Regions from separate parts of the Homo sapiens genome. Here all the other regions are linked to region 4. Evidence: promoter capture Hi-C in 16 types of primary human blood cells and fetal thymus (Javierre and others, 2016). All regions are on one chromosome and are shown on one strand. The core of a region is centred on a gene start or on the middle of the fragment in contact, and the rest is flanking DNA. Distances in the headings are between cores, read along the strand shown.

What was found. The method cuts DNA at HindIII sites, captures the fragments that hold promoters and counts their contacts. A CHiCAGO score of 5 or more calls a contact.
Region 1: a contact is called between a fragment that was not itself captured here and the fragment with the promoter of MKX in region 4, in 1 of 17 cell types (M0 macrophages). The highest score is 6.8, in M0 macrophages.
Region 2: a contact is called between the fragment with the promoter of PTCHD3 here and the fragment with the promoter of MKX in region 4, in 3 of 17 cell types (M0 macrophages, erythroblasts and M1 macrophages). The highest score is 7.9, in M0 macrophages.
Region 3: a contact is called between a fragment that was not itself captured here and the fragment with the promoter of MKX in region 4, in 5 of 17 cell types (M0 macrophages, endothelial precursors, total CD4 T cells and 2 more). The highest score is 6.9, in M0 macrophages.

The regions. Positions count from the first base shown.
Region 1 is chr10:28,154,504-28,158,788 of GRCh38, reverse strand. The region is part of intron 3 of MPP7 (MAGUK p55 scaffold protein 7); the gene reads left to right. Among named protein-coding and RNA genes, the nearest start is that of SNORD130, 83 kb to the right of the region's middle. The HindIII fragment of the contact is 6,328 bases long and covers 1-4,285 here.
Region 2 is chr10:27,411,825-27,415,898 of GRCh38, reverse strand. It overlaps PTCHD3 (patched domain containing 3 (gene/pseudogene)), which reads left to right and starts at 1,552. Exons shown (of 4, transcript NM_001034842.5): 1 at 1,552-2,737; 2 at 3,970-4,074. The coding sequence starts at 1,649. RefSeq lists a silencer at 2,205-2,499. The HindIII fragment of the contact is 6,271 bases long and covers 1-4,074 here.
Region 3 is chr10:28,193,495-28,197,650 of GRCh38, reverse strand. All of the region lies in intron 3 of MPP7 (MAGUK p55 scaffold protein 7), which reads left to right. Among named protein-coding and RNA genes, the nearest start is that of MIR8086, 94 kb to the left of the region's middle. The HindIII fragment of the contact is 7,687 bases long and covers 1-4,156 here.
Region 4 is chr10:27,744,140-27,748,061 of GRCh38, reverse strand. MKX (mohawk homeobox) reads left to right here and starts at 2,243. Exons shown (of 7, transcript NM_173576.3): 1 at 2,243-2,355. MKX-AS1 (MKX antisense RNA 1) reads right to left here and starts at 3,447. Exons shown (of 2, transcript NR_121652.1): 1 at 3,114-3,447. RefSeq lists an enhancer at 2,162-2,752. The HindIII fragment of the contact is 8,324 bases long and covers 1,185-3,922 here.

The DNA of each region.
Region 1 (4,285 bases), core at 665-3,164, 410 kb before region 4:
AGTGCATGGCTTGTGTAACCCAAAACCTCCTGTAGTGCTGTAGGCTGGATTATCTGCAGGGTGGCTCCAGCCCAACTACTTTCAGTGGGGTCCATGTGACCTGTAGGTAACTCATGCATCATTTGTAGGCCAAGCAACTGTCGGCCTCTACTGTTCCCTCTCTCTGTTCTGCCATCCTGCCTCATTTCCCTTGTCACCTTGATTAGAGAAACACGAAAGGAAAATCAGCTAGTCTGCTGCCTGCATAGGAGCTAGAGTTTGTCCTCTGTCGTCTTCTCTGTACCCCTGTTCTCTATGAGGGATTGTCTCAGAGACTTACCTCCATTATTCTACTCTTCACTAGGCTGTGGGCCCCCCTGCCGGCTGTCCCCTCTTTTCCTATTTCCGTAAGACAATTTCCACTCTGTAGTCCTATGTATGTATGTATATATGAAATTTATATTTCATATATAAATTTCACACACACACATTCTGGGAAGTGGCAGATAGAAGATAGTTGATGGTTACATTTCACCCATCTCTTTGAGTCTAGAGAAGTGTATGTTTCAGCTGTTTGGAGTTTTTCTTAGAACATGAGACTTAACACTTCTTTTTCCTCAGCTTTGGGGACTAGTCATCAGTTTTGGGGCAAGAAGAAAATCATTGCATTTATCATCCTCTTCCACGGTGATCCCAGGGTGTTACCAACTGTGCAGGATTAGAGGATTTATATGTCCACTTATCACTAACTAATAATAACGTTTTAACATCTATTTTATGTGAGGCATTGGGTTATGAGCAAGGGATCTGGTGGTGAACTCTAGGGACATTGTCCCTGATCTATGAATTTCCTTACCGATGGGGGTGTAAACAGATAAATATGATAAATCTATAAATACAAAGTCTGATAAGGATAGTGAACAAAAAGAATAGGAAGCCATCAGACCTAATAATGAAGGAGAACTGGTTTTGATTGGGTAAGACTGTTGGGAAAAGCTGTGTGTAAGTGACATTTTAGCTAAGACTCAGAGATGAATGTGGGTACCCCCAAGACTCAGGAACATTGCAGGCAGAGAGGATGCCTTGAGGTAGGAGAGACTCTGGGTGCTTGAGGGTCTAACATAAGGTCCCTGTGGGTGGAACCTGATGGAGAATGGCTTGAGATGGAAGTCTGCAGGGTCCAGGGCATGCAGAGCCCCAGAACAGGCTTGAGTTTCAAGTGCATTGGCAGGCATGCCCTTCATCTCAAGAGCAATGGCAAGCCACCAAAGGGCTTAAATAAGGAAGTGACAACCAGTTTATGGTTGCTGGGTATTTCCATTGTGAATAAAGTCTGATTCCTGTCTAATAGTCATTTTCCATACAGTCACATTGGAATACACTCCACATTCCCTAACCAGATCCTAGCTCATCTCAAAATTATGTGAGCTTCCTTATTAATTTCAACAGAATTTGGGCTTGTGGGCAGAGGGTCTTTGGATTCCCAAATGATAGACAGATGAGAGCTGACAACAGTGATAGCTAGCCCTGTATCGTCTTTGAAGTGACTCTGACGGTTACTCTTTTTCTTTTCCTTTTCCTTTTCTTTCCTTTCCTTTCTGAGACCAAGTCTCGCCCTGCTGCCCAGGCTGAAGTGCAATGGCATGATCTCGGCTCACTGCAACCTCTGCCTCTCGGGTTCAAGCGATTCTCCTGTCTCAGCCTCCCGAGTAGCTGGGATTACAGGCACGCTGCACCACACCTGGCTAATTTTAGTATTTTTGGTAGAGACAGGGTTTCACCATGTTGACCAGGCTGGTCTCGAACTCCTGACCTCAGGTGATCCTCTTGCCTCGGCCTCCCAAAGTGCTGGGATTACAGGTGTGAGCCACCACACCTGGCCGATTACTCTTTTTCTAAGAATCTTTCCACCTCACTGTTACACTTTTTCTTGTGTGAGGGTTTCATTCTGTCTTCTCACCAAAGATAGAACTTTCTTCTTTGGGAACAGGGCAGCTAGAGCTGTGGGTGCGTCCAGACAGATTCTTTTTGAACCTGTTAATAAACATGTAGATCTAGGTTTTTCATCACACCCCTCATTCCTCCAGGAAACCTCCTTATGATACTCTCAGCTTGGTCTTGCACCCTTTCCATCATTTGCCACTTGCAGTGATCACAGTTAGTGTCTGCCTTTCCTGTGTCCGTATCTGGTGGTCACAGTTACTGTCTGCCTTTCCTGTGTCCATCCAGGCTTCCATTAGCCCTTTGTTCAGGTCCTCTTCTCTTTTTACTTGGACTGTTTTTGAAGAAATGTCAATAGAGATGGCATTTGGTTGCGTGACCTCAGAAATTCTCTTCTTGAATATAGGTGATACCGATTAATCTTTGATGTTGATCTTTAGGTCTTGATTGTATCATATGTATACACGACATGGTGTAGTCAAAGGGAGACGAGAATCTCCTCTTACTAGGAACACCAGTGGAAGCGAGCAGGGGAATTGGAAATAAATACTGTTTATTAGGTGTTTTCTATTTTCCAGAACTTGCGTGAAACTCTTTTAATGGTGACTTTCATTCTCACAGTAACCCTAGTTAATAGATACGATTATTATCCTGTTTTAAATATGAGAAAACTAAGGCATAGAAAGTTAAATAAGTTGCTTAAGCATAAGTAAGGGGCGGAATTGGGATTTAAACTCATGTATTTGACTTCAAGACTCTCAGTAAATTATGTTGATACTTCATCTTTTAAAACTGTGAAAATACTATAAATTCTTCATTTTTTTTAGTGCTTTTCCTTTTCTCTATGGAGATAACAGTTAAATCTCTAACGTACAATGGGCCTATATGTTTATCTTGGAGGCAGCAAGGAAAACAATAGCTGGAAGAGTACATCTGATTTCACAACAGATTTGGGGATAGAGGCAGTGTGGTGGCTGCTGAGAGGAGATGGAACTGCTTAAGTCCATTGTGTTTGCAAAGAAAGGGAAACCTGAGGAACCCCAAAGTCATCTGCACTGAGCAGTGACCAGTTTGTTTGTTTTGTTTTGTTTTTTTTTTTTAAGTTTCTGACCACTAGCACAATATCCTCCTAACAGGTTTTCTGTTCCTCGTCTTACCTGCTACCTCCCTTCCTCCCCAAATCTGTCCAAGGAAAATGGAGTGAAGCACAAATTGGCCCAAGGGTCTCCTATTCTTTAATGCCTTTTTCTTTTTCTTTCTTTTTTTTTTTGGAGACAGGGTCTGGCTCTGTTGCCCAGGCTGGAGTGTGGTGGCACAATCTGAGCTCACTGCAACCTCCACTTCCTGGGCTCAATCAATCAATCAGTCTGCCCACTTCAGCCTCCCGAGTAGCTGGGACTACAGGTGTACACTACCATGCCTGGCCAATTTCTGTATTTTTTGTAGAGTTGGGGTTTCACCATGTTACCCAGGCTGGTGTTGAACTCCTGGGCTCAAGCAATCTGCCTGCCTTGGCCTCCCAAAGTGCTGGGCTTACCGGTGTGAGCCACCGCACTTGGCCTTTAATGGCTATTTATTTATTTACTGAATAAAGTCTTAAGTCCTTTAGCATAAATCACCCATCTGTATTTGGGTATTTTCCTAGAAAATGCATGCAAACAAATTGTATATAGTTTTCAGGAGTTCATGAATCAACTGAGTCACACATGAACTCTCCTAGCCATAGATCCCAGACTCGCCACGTTTTAAGACGGTTCATTCCATCTTTTGTTACAAAACTAGTTTTAAGCTGTAATTACAGTTTTAATGTTTGTTAAAATGTAAACTGCAAACAAGTATACAAGGTAATTGATTGCTACTTGTATGTTGAAACCTGTCTGAGTTCCATGACATCATCTGCAGTAACAGCTATCTGATCAAAAATTTAACAGTTCCCACTTCATCAACAATTACTGGAAAAAAAAAACAATTACTGAAATACAGATTTTTGAAGAATGGCAGCTCTCATAATTGTAATATGTGGGGAGTGAAAAATAAATGTATGTAGAAATTTGGGGTTGTTTCAAAATGGGACAGATTATATATCTCTGGATTGGAGAATTCAAGTTTCCCCACCACCCCCCACCCCAACTAACTCAGATTTTCCAAAGAAATGTTTAATGCCCTGGCTACTTTCTCTAGAACATTATTCTGGGAACTAAAGGAATTTGATCTGTAGAAAATGTTCTGAGAAGTGGTTTCAAATAGTATCACTACATTTTCAACCAAAATGAAAATGTTGATGGTTTGTTGCTTTTTAATCATTTAATTTAAGCCTAAAAACGGTTTTTGGTGCTTTGTATTTTGTAGACTTTATAGACATGTT
Region 2 (4,074 bases), core at 303-2,802, 330 kb after region 4:
GCTTCCAAGTTGGTGCCTTGTTGCTGCACCCTCTGGAGGGAAGGAAGGCTATGTCCTCACCTGGCGAAAGAGTGGAAGGGCAAAAGGGCCTAGCTAGTTATCTCCAGCCCTTTTATAAGGTCACTAATCCCACTCATAAGAGGTCTACCATCATGACTTAATCACCCCTAAAGACTATCACATTGGGGTTTGAGTTCCAACCTTTGAATTTTGGAGGGACACATTCATTCAAATCGCAGCAATTATAATCACAAAAAAAGAAAAATTTGTTATGACAAAAAATGGAATTCATGAAAGAAAAGTATTCATTAATTGAATTGCAAAAATAAGCCATGGCAATGAGAAAAATGAGGGGAGAGGGGAGGCTTGTAACTCAGACCACAAGAAAAGTGGTCATTTCTTTAACATATAAATCAAGAAGAAAATCCCAAAATCCAATAGGAAAACTATTGAATGGAATAGGCACGCAAAAGATATGATAGTTCACTCAAAAAGGAAAGATAAGGATACTAAGCAGTACATTCAAAATTAAACCAAAGTAAGATGCCAGTGGCACAAACCACTTTGCTGACATTGTAGGATAGGCTGTGGCAAATTCATATATTGCTTATGAGGGTATAAATCAATACAACTTCTTTGGATTTTAATTTCTCAATAGCTCTAAAAATTTAAAAGAACCTATCCTTTGGCCTAGTGAATCCACTCTAAAGAATTATCTCTCACAGATATGGTTGCTGTGTACAGGTTAAAATATGATATTTATTTACTGAGCACTGTTTATAAAAGCAAATGACTAAACAATGTATGGGTCCATCAGTAAAATTCTGGCTAAATTATGTTTCATCCATACATTGGAAAAGTATAGAGCAGTTCAAAAAAATAAGATAAATCCATATGCACTGACATGTTCAAATCTTCTGCCACTGTAGATGAAAAATGTGATCTACATAACATGAATAGTGAAGTAGTATTTATGAAAAAGGTATATTTGCTATATCTTTGATATGCATGTATATGCATAGAAAGGGTTTGCAAGGATGTAGACCCACTTTTTAACACTTCTTTTAAGAGGAATGGGAGTGAAAGATTTTGATTTTTTTTTCCCCACTTTTCATTCTATGCATTTACTTCTTTTTACTAGGAGAATGTATGTACATGTTACACTTGTGGACAGAAAATAAAAATAATAACTAAGTCAAGTGTGTCAGATTCATAAAAGTCTTACTTGAAACTGTTACTGGGTGAATGCCAAGAAAGGTAAAATCTGTCACTCAGGACACGTGGAATTTCTGTGCCATTTGTGTGCATGGAAGAAACACCCACATTCTCCCAATAAATTGCGAGTCCATAGGATAGGCACGCATTTGATGGCCTTGAAGAAGCGTTCCTTGTATGTGCAGAACCCCTGAGAAACCAGGCACGCCACAAACACATTTCAGATTAGTTGGGCGACGGGGCAAACCACGTGCTCCCAACGCAGCCTCCGCTTCCGGAGCGCGGCTGGAGGGCAAACTCCCCTAGAATTTCTCCAGGAAACCGTTGGGTGGGGCCAGGAGAGCGTTGGGTGGGGCCAGGAAACCGTCTGGTGGGATCTCCGCAGCTGCTTTTCACCTGCTGTTCCTCCTGCGCTTCCTAAGAGGAAGAATCAATGCCGTGGGTGGAGCCCAAGCCCAGGCCGGGGCCGGAGCAGAAGCCCAAGCTCACCAAACCGGACTCTGCCACCGGGCCGCAGTGGTACCAGGAATCTCAGGAATCGGAGTCGGAAGGCAAGCAGCCACCCCCGGGACCCCTGGCACCCCCGAAATCCCCCGAACCCTCAGGACCCCTGGCGTCGGAGCAGGATGCACCCCTGCCAGAGGGGGACGATGCACCCCCCCGGCCGTCGATGCTGGACGATGCACCCCGCCTGCCGCTGGAGCTGGACGATGCACCCCTGCCGGAGGAGGAAACCCCCGAACCCACGGCCATCTGCAGGCACCGGCACCGCTGTCACACCGACTGCCTAGAGGGGCTGCTGTCCCGCACCTTCCAGTGGCTGGGGTGGCAGGTGGGCGCGCACCCCTGGATCTTCCTGCTGGCGCCCTTGATGCTGACAGCCGCGCTGGGCACCGGCTTCCTGTACCTACCCAAGGACGAAGAGGAAGACCTAGAGGAGCATTACACCCCTGTGGGGAGCCCGGCCAAGGCGGAGCGGCGCTTCGTGCAGGGCCATTTCACCACCAACGACTCCTACCGCTTCTCCGCCTCCAGGAGGAGCACCGAAGCCAATTTCGTCTCGCTTCTGGTGGTCTCCTACAGCGACTCACTGCTGGACCCAGCTACCTTTGCAGAAGTCAGCAAACTGGACGGCGCGGTGCAGGATCTGCGCGTGGCGCGGGAAAAGGGAAGCCAGATCCAGTACCAGCAGGTGTGCGCGAGGTACAGGGCGCTCTGCGTGCCCCCCAACCCGATCCTGTACGCCTGGCAGGTGAACAAAACGCTCAACCTGAGCAGCATCTCCTTCCCCGCCTACAACCACGGCAGGCATCCCCTCTACCTGACCGGCTTCTTCGGAGGATACATCTTGGGGGGCAGCCTAGGAATGGGCCAGTTACTCCTGCGGGCCAAAGCCATGCGGCTGCTGTACTACCTGAAGACCGAGGACCCTGAGTACGACGTGCAGAGCAAGCAGTGGCTCACCCATTTGCTCGATCAATTTACCAACATTAAGAACATCTTGGCCTTGAAAAAAATTGAGGTACCTGGTGGTGTGGGTTTACAGGGAGGCCAGGAGAAGGTGAGAGGGATGAGGAAGACTTGCTCCCCAGAATCGTAACAAAAGCACTTCCTGACTACTTTACGGGGCCCTTGCCTCTAGGCTGGGTGTGCTCTACTGTATTTGGTACTCAACCCAATTTTCTTAACACCGACGGATGCCAGAAATTGTGAATCCTTGGTAGCATTCTAGTCGATAACACAAATCCTATGTCCACCAGATGGGCCTGTTCAGTACAGACATTGATCTTCATGTTTAATTTTGGGGTTTGGTTTCTAATCAAATTACAGTATTCTGAAATTCTACTTTTAGTTAAAGTCTTCACTGGTTTGGGGGAACCCCTAAAACTTGCTTGGAGCTCATTGGGATTAAAAAACAAACCGTCTTTTAAGTAAAAGTTCCATAGCCTTAAGAAGATAACTAGCTTAGCATTTTTCAAGTTAGATACATACGAAGCAGCACCTGGCTTAGTGTGAGGTACATATTAGCTGTTCAGTTATTGGTGGATCTGCAACACTATTCAGATGTATAAATAAGCCTAGTGAAAGAGACACCTGCTGGAAAGAGCTTTCAAAGACCAGGCCCTCCTGAAATATTTATGCAACTGAAATAGTAAAAGACACTAACCTAATACAAATTTAGAAAAAGTTACAATTTCTGCAGCTATTAATGAGAACAAGATTAAACAGTTTTAGGCTGGGTGTGGTGGCTCACGCCTATAATCCCAGCATTTTGGGACACCAAGGCAGGTAGACTGCTTGAGTCCAGGGGTTCAAGACCAGCCTCGGCAACCTGGCAAAACCCCATCTCTACAAAAATTACAAAAGTTAGCCAGTCGTGGTGGTGCACACCTGTAGTCCCAGCTATTCGTAAGGCCAAGGCAGGAGGATGACTTGAGCCCAGGAGGTTGAGGGCCCTGTCTCAAAAAAAAAAAAGATTTCAAAGTTTTATATAAAATTCAGATTTTGTTTATTCAGGAGTTTTATTTAAACTTTGAATTTGAAAGAAACTTGGGGAATCCATAGATGTGTGGAAAGAAGCAAATCTACATTATTTTCTCTATTCTGAAGTCATAATCCATGTATTTTTATCTTTTGCTGAATTTTAACATACATATTGTTTCATCACTAAGATAAAGTGTTTCAATAGTTTTTGTAACTCACACACAAATATTGTAATTAAAAGCTATTTATCTGAGTATATTTTTGTGGCAGGTAGTCCACTTTACATCGCTTTCCAGACAACTGGAATTTGAGGCAACTTCTGTGACTGTGATCCCTGTGTTTCACCTGGCATACATTCTCATCATTCTGTTTGCA
Region 3 (4,156 bases), core at 128-2,627, 450 kb before region 4:
ATAAATGAAGGGATGGATGATTACAGTATTCTAAGATAGGCCTCATTTGGAGCTTTTTAGGAGAGACACAAGGTACCTCACTCAACACTAGCCTCAGAGGGGGCGGTTCATGGAGGATTTGGTATCTTAAGTTGGAACCTGCATTCGGTATAGGAGTTGCTCAGGTTAGGCTGGGTGTGGTGGCTCATGCCTGTAATCCCAGCACTTTGGGAGGCTGAGGCAGGTGGATCACTTGAGGTCAACAGTTCGAGACCAGCCTGGTCAAAATGGTGAAACCCTGTCTCTACTAAAAATACAAAAATTAGCCAGGCATGGTGGCACATTCTTGTAATCCCAGCTGCTTGGGAGGCTGAGGCATGAGAATTGCTTGAACCTGGGAGGCAGAGGTTGCAGTGAGCTGAGATCGTGCCACTGTACTCCAGCCTGGGCGACAGAGCAAGATTCCATCTCAAAAAAAAAAAAAAAAAAAGGAAGTTGCTCAGGTTAGAGTTTATGGGATGGATGAGGGCATGGGAGGTCAGGCAGAAGGAATAATGGATGCGAACACCTGGAGGCAAGAGCGAACAATCCACCTTTAGGATTGAGGTCAACAGATTGTTTTGGCTGATCTGTGACACCAGGAAGGCTGTGGGCAGCCAAGGGTGGCAGGAGAGATGAACAGTGACCTGTTCTTGAATAGCTTTGTAAACGACAGAAGGTAAATGGGCTTTCTTCTAAGAGAGTGGGAACCATTGCATGGAAAGGTTTCAAGAACAGTGAAGATATCAGGTTTTTCTTTTAGAGGTAAACAGTGAAGACTGGATGGGACATGAGATTCCCAGGTCAGAGATGATGGTGGCAAAGTGTTGGAAGAGCCACTGATTTTAGTTTGAGAGAGGGAGGCTGATGTTCAGTGTGCTCTCATCTGCCTGTGGGCTCTTCATTGAAATATGAAACTCTCCTGTTGTAAGCCACCAACTATTGTTTATGCCAGGCCATTGCGGGTTGGAAGAGGATACCAGGAGACCTGTATAAGCCCTAAGATACCAATACCAGGTACCAGTTCTTATATATTTTGACCATCTCCTCAGAGGAGATGAGAGGTAATTTTAGTTTTGGTTATGTTTGATATCTGGGGCATAATCAAATAGAGCTACTTATTGGATGTGTGAATCTTTTTTTTTTTTTTTTCGAGATGGAGTCTCGCTGTGTCACCCAGGCTGGAGTGCAGTAGTGTGATCTCGGCTCACTGCAACCTCTGCCTCCTGGGTTCAAGGGAGTCTCCTGCCTCAGCCTCCCGTGTAGCTGCAATTACAGGCACCTGCCCCCACGCCCAGCTAATTTTTATACTTTTAGTGGAGATGGGTTCCACCATGTTGGCCAGGGTGGTCTTGAACTCCTGACCTTGGGTGATCCACCTGCCTTGGCCTCCCAAAGTGCTGGGATTACAGGCATGAGCCACCGCATCTGGCCTGGATATGTGAATATTGAACTGAGGATAATTATGTTCTGGATTGGACAGAATAGATTTGGGAGTAGGGGTGCCAGATAAAATGCAGGACATCCTCTTACAGTTGAATTTCAGATATGCAATGAATGGTCTTTGTTATAAGTGTGAACCATGCAATATTTGTATTTTCATTACTGAAATCTGACAGCTCTTATTTGGGAGTCATCAACGTTTAGAAGGTAACATTCTTTTGGGAACAGATTTGTTGAGCTATATAATTCACCTACTGTCAAATCACCCACTTAAAACATACAATTCAGTGGTTTTTAGTATATTCACAGGATTGTGCAACCATTGCCAAAATCAATTTTATTTATTTTGTTTATTTTGTTCTTTTCCTATCCCCACAATCAGTTTTAGAACCTTTTTATCACCTCAAAAATAAATCCTTCACCCCTAGCCATCATTCTTCAATCCTTGCATTCTCTCTCCCATCCCATCCCTAAACAACTGCCAGTCTACTTTCTGTCTCTATGTATTTGCCTATCCTGGAAATTTCATATAAATGGCATCATCTGTGGCTTTTTTGTAACTGACTTCTGTCACTTAGCTTAATGTTTTCAAGGCTCACCCAAATTATAGCATGTATCAGTACTTAATTCCTTTTTATGACTGAATAACATTGTATGGCTATATCACACTTCGTTCATCCTTTCATCCATGGATGGACATTTGGGTTGTTTCTGCCTATTGGCTGTTATGGTGATGCTACTAAGAACATTTGTGTATAAGTTATTGCATAGATGTATATTTTCACTTCTCCTGGGTATGTATCTAGGAGAGGAATTGCTAGGTTAAATGGTAGCTCTAAGTTTTTATGAAGACCTGTTAGACTATTTTTCTAAGTGGCTGAACCATTTTATATTCCCACCAGCAGTGTATAAGGGTTCTGATTTGTCTGTATCTTCACCAACATTTGTTTTTATCTGACTTTTTGATTCTTACTGTCCTGGTGGGTATGAAGTGGTACCTCATTGTGATTTTGATTTGCATTTTCTAGATGTCTAAATAATGTTAACCATCTTTTCATGTGCTTATTGGCTATTTGTATGTCTTCTTTGGAGAAATGTCCAATTGGATCCTTTGCCCATCATTTCTCCCATTGGATTCTTTTTAATTAATAAACTTTACTTTGTAGAACTGTTTTGGATTTACAGAAAAATTGAGCAGATGGTACAGATAGCTCCCATATCCCCCTTCTCCCCTTCCCAGTTTCTCTTATTATTTACCTCTTGCATTGGCATGGTACATTTGTCAATTAACGAACCAATGTTGGTTGATACATTATTATTAATTGAACTCCATTATCTACATTAAGGTTTATTCTTTGTGTTGTATACTTCCAGGTTTTGACAAATGCATTATGTCTTGCATCTATTATTACATTGTCATGAAGAATAGTTTTACGTTTCCAAATCTCCCATGCTTTACCTGTCCTCCCTCCCCAGCTCAGCAATCACTGATAGTTTTACTGTCTGAATAGTTTTGCCTTTTCCAGAAGGTCATATTGTTGGAATAATACAGTATGTAGCCTTTTCAGATTGGCTTCTTTTACCTAGTAATATGCATTTAGGGCTCCATCAAGTCTTCTCATGGCAACATAGCCCATTTCTTTACTTTGTATTGCTGAATAGGATTTAGTTGTAGATAAGCACCATAGTTTGTTTCTCCATTAACCTTTTGAAGGGCATGTTCATTGCTTCCAGTTTTGAGCAGTTACAGGTAAACTTTCTATAAACATTTGTGTGCAGGTTTTTGTGTAGATGTAAGTTTGCAACTCATTTGGATAAATATCACGGAGCACAGTTACTGGATCATGTGGTAAGACTAGCTTTTTAAGAAACTGCTGGCCAGGTGTGGTGGCTCATGCCTGTAATCCCAGCACTTTGGGAGGCCGAGGCGGGTGGATCACCAGGTCTGGAGTTCGAGACCATTCTGGCCAACATGGTGAAACCCTATCTCTACTAGAAATACAAAAAACTAGCCAGGTGTGGTGGCACGCGCCTGTAGTCCCAGCTACTTGAGAAGCTGAGGCAGAAGAATCGCTTGAATCCAGGAGGCGGAGGTTGCAGTGAGTTGAGATTGTGTCACTGCACTCCAGCCTGGGTGACAGAGTGAGACTCTGTTTCAAAAACATTTCAAAAACAAACAAACAAAAAGAAGCTGCCATATTGTCTTTTAAGGTGACTGTACCATGTTGAATTCCTACCAGCAATGAGTGAGAGTCCCTGTAGCTCTATAGCCTTGTCAGCGTTTGGTGTGGTCATTTTTTTTTTTTTTTTAATTTTAGCCATTCTAGTTGGTGTATAGTAGTATCTCATTATTGTGTCAATTTGCACATGGTAGGTTAAGCATATCTTCACACGTTTATTTTTTATCTATACATCTTCTTTGCTGAGGTGTCTATTCAGATTTTTTGCTTATTTTTATTTTTATATTCCTGTTGTTGAGCTTTAACAATTCTTTGTATTTTCTAGATGCAAGTCTTTTATCAGATATGTATTTGCAAATATTTTCTCCCAGTTTGTCTTTTCATTGTCTTAGTGGTGTCTCTCACAAAGCAGAAGTTCCACATTTTACTAAAGTCTAACTTACAGATTTTTTCTTTCATGGATTGTGCTTTTGGAATTATATCTAAAAACTCATTGTCAGGCCAGTCATGGTGAC
Region 4 (3,922 bases), core at 994-3,493:
AGGTGTAATTTAATAATGAATGTATTTGAAGTGTGGATTAAAATGAAGACAACACTTCCCTTTTGCATAGAGGATAAAACTTGCAAAAATAAAATAAATGCCCATTGGTATATTACAGAGGGATATTTCACACCATTTCACTTCTAGAATGGATCCTTCACTCTTCTTTCATTTTTAAATGGATTTTAATTATTAAATCATAGTCTAAGGGAATTACCATATGTTAATTTTTTAGTGAGTTGAGGCTTACTCAAATGTATTTTATTCCTATATCAAATGAAAAGTATTTTTGCATTAAGATTTTTGCTGTATATTTCATTTCAGACTTTAAGAAAACAAATATTACATGTAAGTATATCTTAAAAGCGCTCTAAATGCATTTTTAAATTGAGTAAATATAGTTAAGTACTAAAACAACAAAATTCATTTGTCCTATACTAACATGTACTATAGCATATAGCTCAAAAAGTTAGTAGAATACTGGGAAATTGCAAGTAACTGTATGATGCCTATTGCTTTACCTGGGACAGCTGACCAAAAAATGTTTCAGGGGTATGTTAGAGCTAATTTCATTACAATTCCCGGTGACTAACACCACTGATAGAGACCATAAAAGAGAAGGTGGCTCTTTTGTCCTATGAATTATCAATTAGATCTGCTTCTGTGGTGAAATTTGTTAGCTGAAAATTGATGGCTGAAACCTTAGGATTTACCCCTGTCTTTAAGCTCCTACAGCGAGGTCTGTAGACCAGAAGCCTGTACTGAACTCACACCACAAGGGCAGCGCCAAAGACAAGATGCAAGCGCTGCAACAGCAAGTTATATAACAAAAGAGAACCGAGGACATCAGAACGTGCTCCAATGATACTTTGTATCTTCCTGGTGCGCAAAAATGTAAACCGGCCTTCCTTTATGGTTTACATTGTACCCCTGCACAACGGTTTGCTATCGCGTAATTTGGGAGGTGACACATATGAAATTTGAGGGTGTGATTAGTCTTTAAAATAATAGTTTTGGTATATATTTTAAGCACTTCTAGCGACCCCCCCAACACACAAACACACACACACACACGCGCACACACACACACACACACGAAGAAGATGCTAAGGTGGGCCACTGCCCCGGCTCTGGCCAGCCGCATTTAGAGGGGAAAAGGACAAATGGCGCTATTTCTTTAAGCTTGGTGGGGGGAAATCTAAGTTTGTTCTTTAAAAAGGGCGAAAGTTCGCTAGGACCACAGGGCCTTCGGCGAGAGCGCAGGCAGCTTCGTGTTGGCACCTTGGGGATCTTCTGGGCTGCCAGAAGCTCTGAGCTTGCAGTTGCACCTAAACCGCCGCTTTCGCTACTTATATTTGCGGTAATGTTAGGAAGCAAAGTATCATCAATCAGAGAATCTGGTAGCCATTCTCTCTCTTTGCCCTGTGTCCCAGCTTGTGATTCTTCTAAGTTCCATCTCCTTTGCTGCGTGCAGATCCTTGGCTTTGGGCGCGCTTCCTCTTCTGCACTTGGGCCACCGCGGGTTGGCCACCTGGGCTGAACTCATCCCATCCTTGCTTTCCCCCATCCCTATACCCAGCGGCGAGGGCAGCCTCACCAGCCCTTGCCCCGGAGGTGAATGTGTGCCTGGCTTTGACTGAGACAACTAGGACCCCAGAAGCCCAGTGACATCAGAAAAGAGGCTCCTGGGCACTAGCACTTCCCGCAATACGCTCCAGGGCTGTAGGTGCAAAACGGAGCTCTAACTTCCCTCCAGCTAATCGAGAGGAAAATACAGGGCGCGTCACAGTGGCCTCTCCCGCCTAGCCACGCGCAGTGAAATTTCCGGCAATCGGGCCAGCTAAGACACGGGATTTGCACCGCAGCCTCTCAGCTTCTGGAGCCGGAGCCGAGCGCTCCCGGCAGCTTCTCCAATTTCTCTCCTAAAGTGCGAAGGGAAAAGCCCCGTCTGCTCCACGACTGCAAGGCCGGCGGATCTGGGAGCCGCGCCCGGCTCCGGAGGACTCGGCGGGCCCGGGGCTCCCCGGCAGCGGCTCCTCTGCTAGGGGTTAACAGCAGCCCCCGCGGCCGGGCGGGCGCGGACGCTTCCTCTCCACCCGCCCGGGAACGTGGATACCGCGCCCGCAGGATGTTCGCCGGCTGGGACCGGCAGTCAGGAAACATGAGAAGGCCTCGCTATTCCTGTTCCCGGGCGGCGCGCGCCGGGCTGGGTAAATAAAGCCGAGACGACGGCGGTGGCGGTGGTGAGCGCGCTGGAGCCCGCGTGGAGAACATGCGGCGGGGATGGGAGTGCGCCTAGTCTCGAGGCGGGAGAGCCAGCCGCCCTGCAGCCGGCCGTCGGCCCCGCAGCCACAGGTACAGCCCCCGCGTCGCCGAGTCTCAGCCGGCTGCGGCGGAACGCCAGGCTCGCTCTGGCCCCTGCGCCCTGGGCGCCGGTGCTCTCCCGCCCTTCCCCCAACTTCCCTCCAAGGTCTGGTGGAGAGGCGCTCGGGTAGCGGCCAAGGCTGGCCCAAGGGTCTGCGCGGAGCTTGGGAGCCCACCTGGCCGCGCCTCCTTTGCTTTAAAATTATTCGCCGGCGTTGGGGGAGGGGGACACTTCTGCAGGGAGTGACCTCCCCGGCCACAGTCTGGAGTGAATCGGGGTAAGTGATTTGAGAAGAGGCGCGGGTGGCCGCGCGCGGGAGTCCTGGGAGGGTCAGCAAGTGTGGTTCACACGCCCCCGGACCCCTTGCGACAGGACAGCGCTCGGACCTTTGCCATCGCTTGCCTCTGAGCCTGCTGCCTGCAGACCTACAGCGCGCCGGGTGTCTGTGTCTGCGATCTCTGCGTGGGCTTGGGGCTGCCGGGGAAGTGTCCGAGGTGGCTAACCTCGTGATGACTTCGCTAGGAAAAACACGTCGTCGCATCTAGGAGGACGCGCTGGGGTGGCTCGGAGAAGGCCGGGCCGGGGAAGGGTGTCTTGTACAAATAAAGCAGCATGAACACACATCCCTAAGGGCATGATTTTAAAAGAAAACACCAACGCGAGTCTTGACTGTAGAACAGGGGCTGCAAGCACGAAAATTCTCTTTGACACTTATCACCGAGGCTATGTGCACACCCCAGGCACGTACCTGTCTGCGCGGGAGGACGCAGTCCTAGGGGACACACGACATCCAGCAGAGGTCTGACTTCACTTCCCTACGAACACAGACCGTAGCCGTCGTTTGATCGCGGTGGTCACGCGTGGTCCTAAATGTCACGCGTGGCCTCTGCTGCGGTGGCCGAAGGGCGGGGCGGGGGCGTTGGCGAGTGTGGGCGCTTGGCGAGGCAAAGGGTGTGTGTGTGTGTGTGTGTGTGTGTGTGTGTGTATGCGCGCGCGCGTGTGTTAGTGGAGTAGCAGCCCATGCCGCGGCTGGACGGGCAAAGGGGGCGCTGGCAGCGAAGCTGAGGCCGCTCGGAGGAAACGGGAGCTGTCCCGAGGCGCGAGGCGAGGAGATGGGGCGGGCGAAGTCCGCCGCGCGCCTTGGGGCTGTAACTCTGCGGCTCCGCGGCCGCGCGGACTTGCTCCTGACGCCGGTGCGCGGCAGGCAGAGGCTCAGGGCCTCCGCGACCCCAGAGGTGAGCTGCTGGCTCTCCCCGACAGTGGCAGCAGTGGCCCGGGAGGTGCGCCGACCAAGCTGCCTCCTGCCTTGGGCTTCTGACACCTTTACAGCCTCTGAAAGGGTCCCCGGAGACCCCAGAGAGAGGCGGGTGTCGAGGGGCTACGAGCTCGCGGCTGACACCCGCGCTGCGGAAGAGAATGGCACTGATTGAGGGCTCTGGGGACCTGGGTCCTGGCGCCTTGGACCTTAGGACCATGCACTTCCCGGGGCGCGTTGGGGGATGATAGGAAGATTCTGGGAGAGAAGGGGGAGAAGTGGTGCTTTCGTCCTGACGCCAC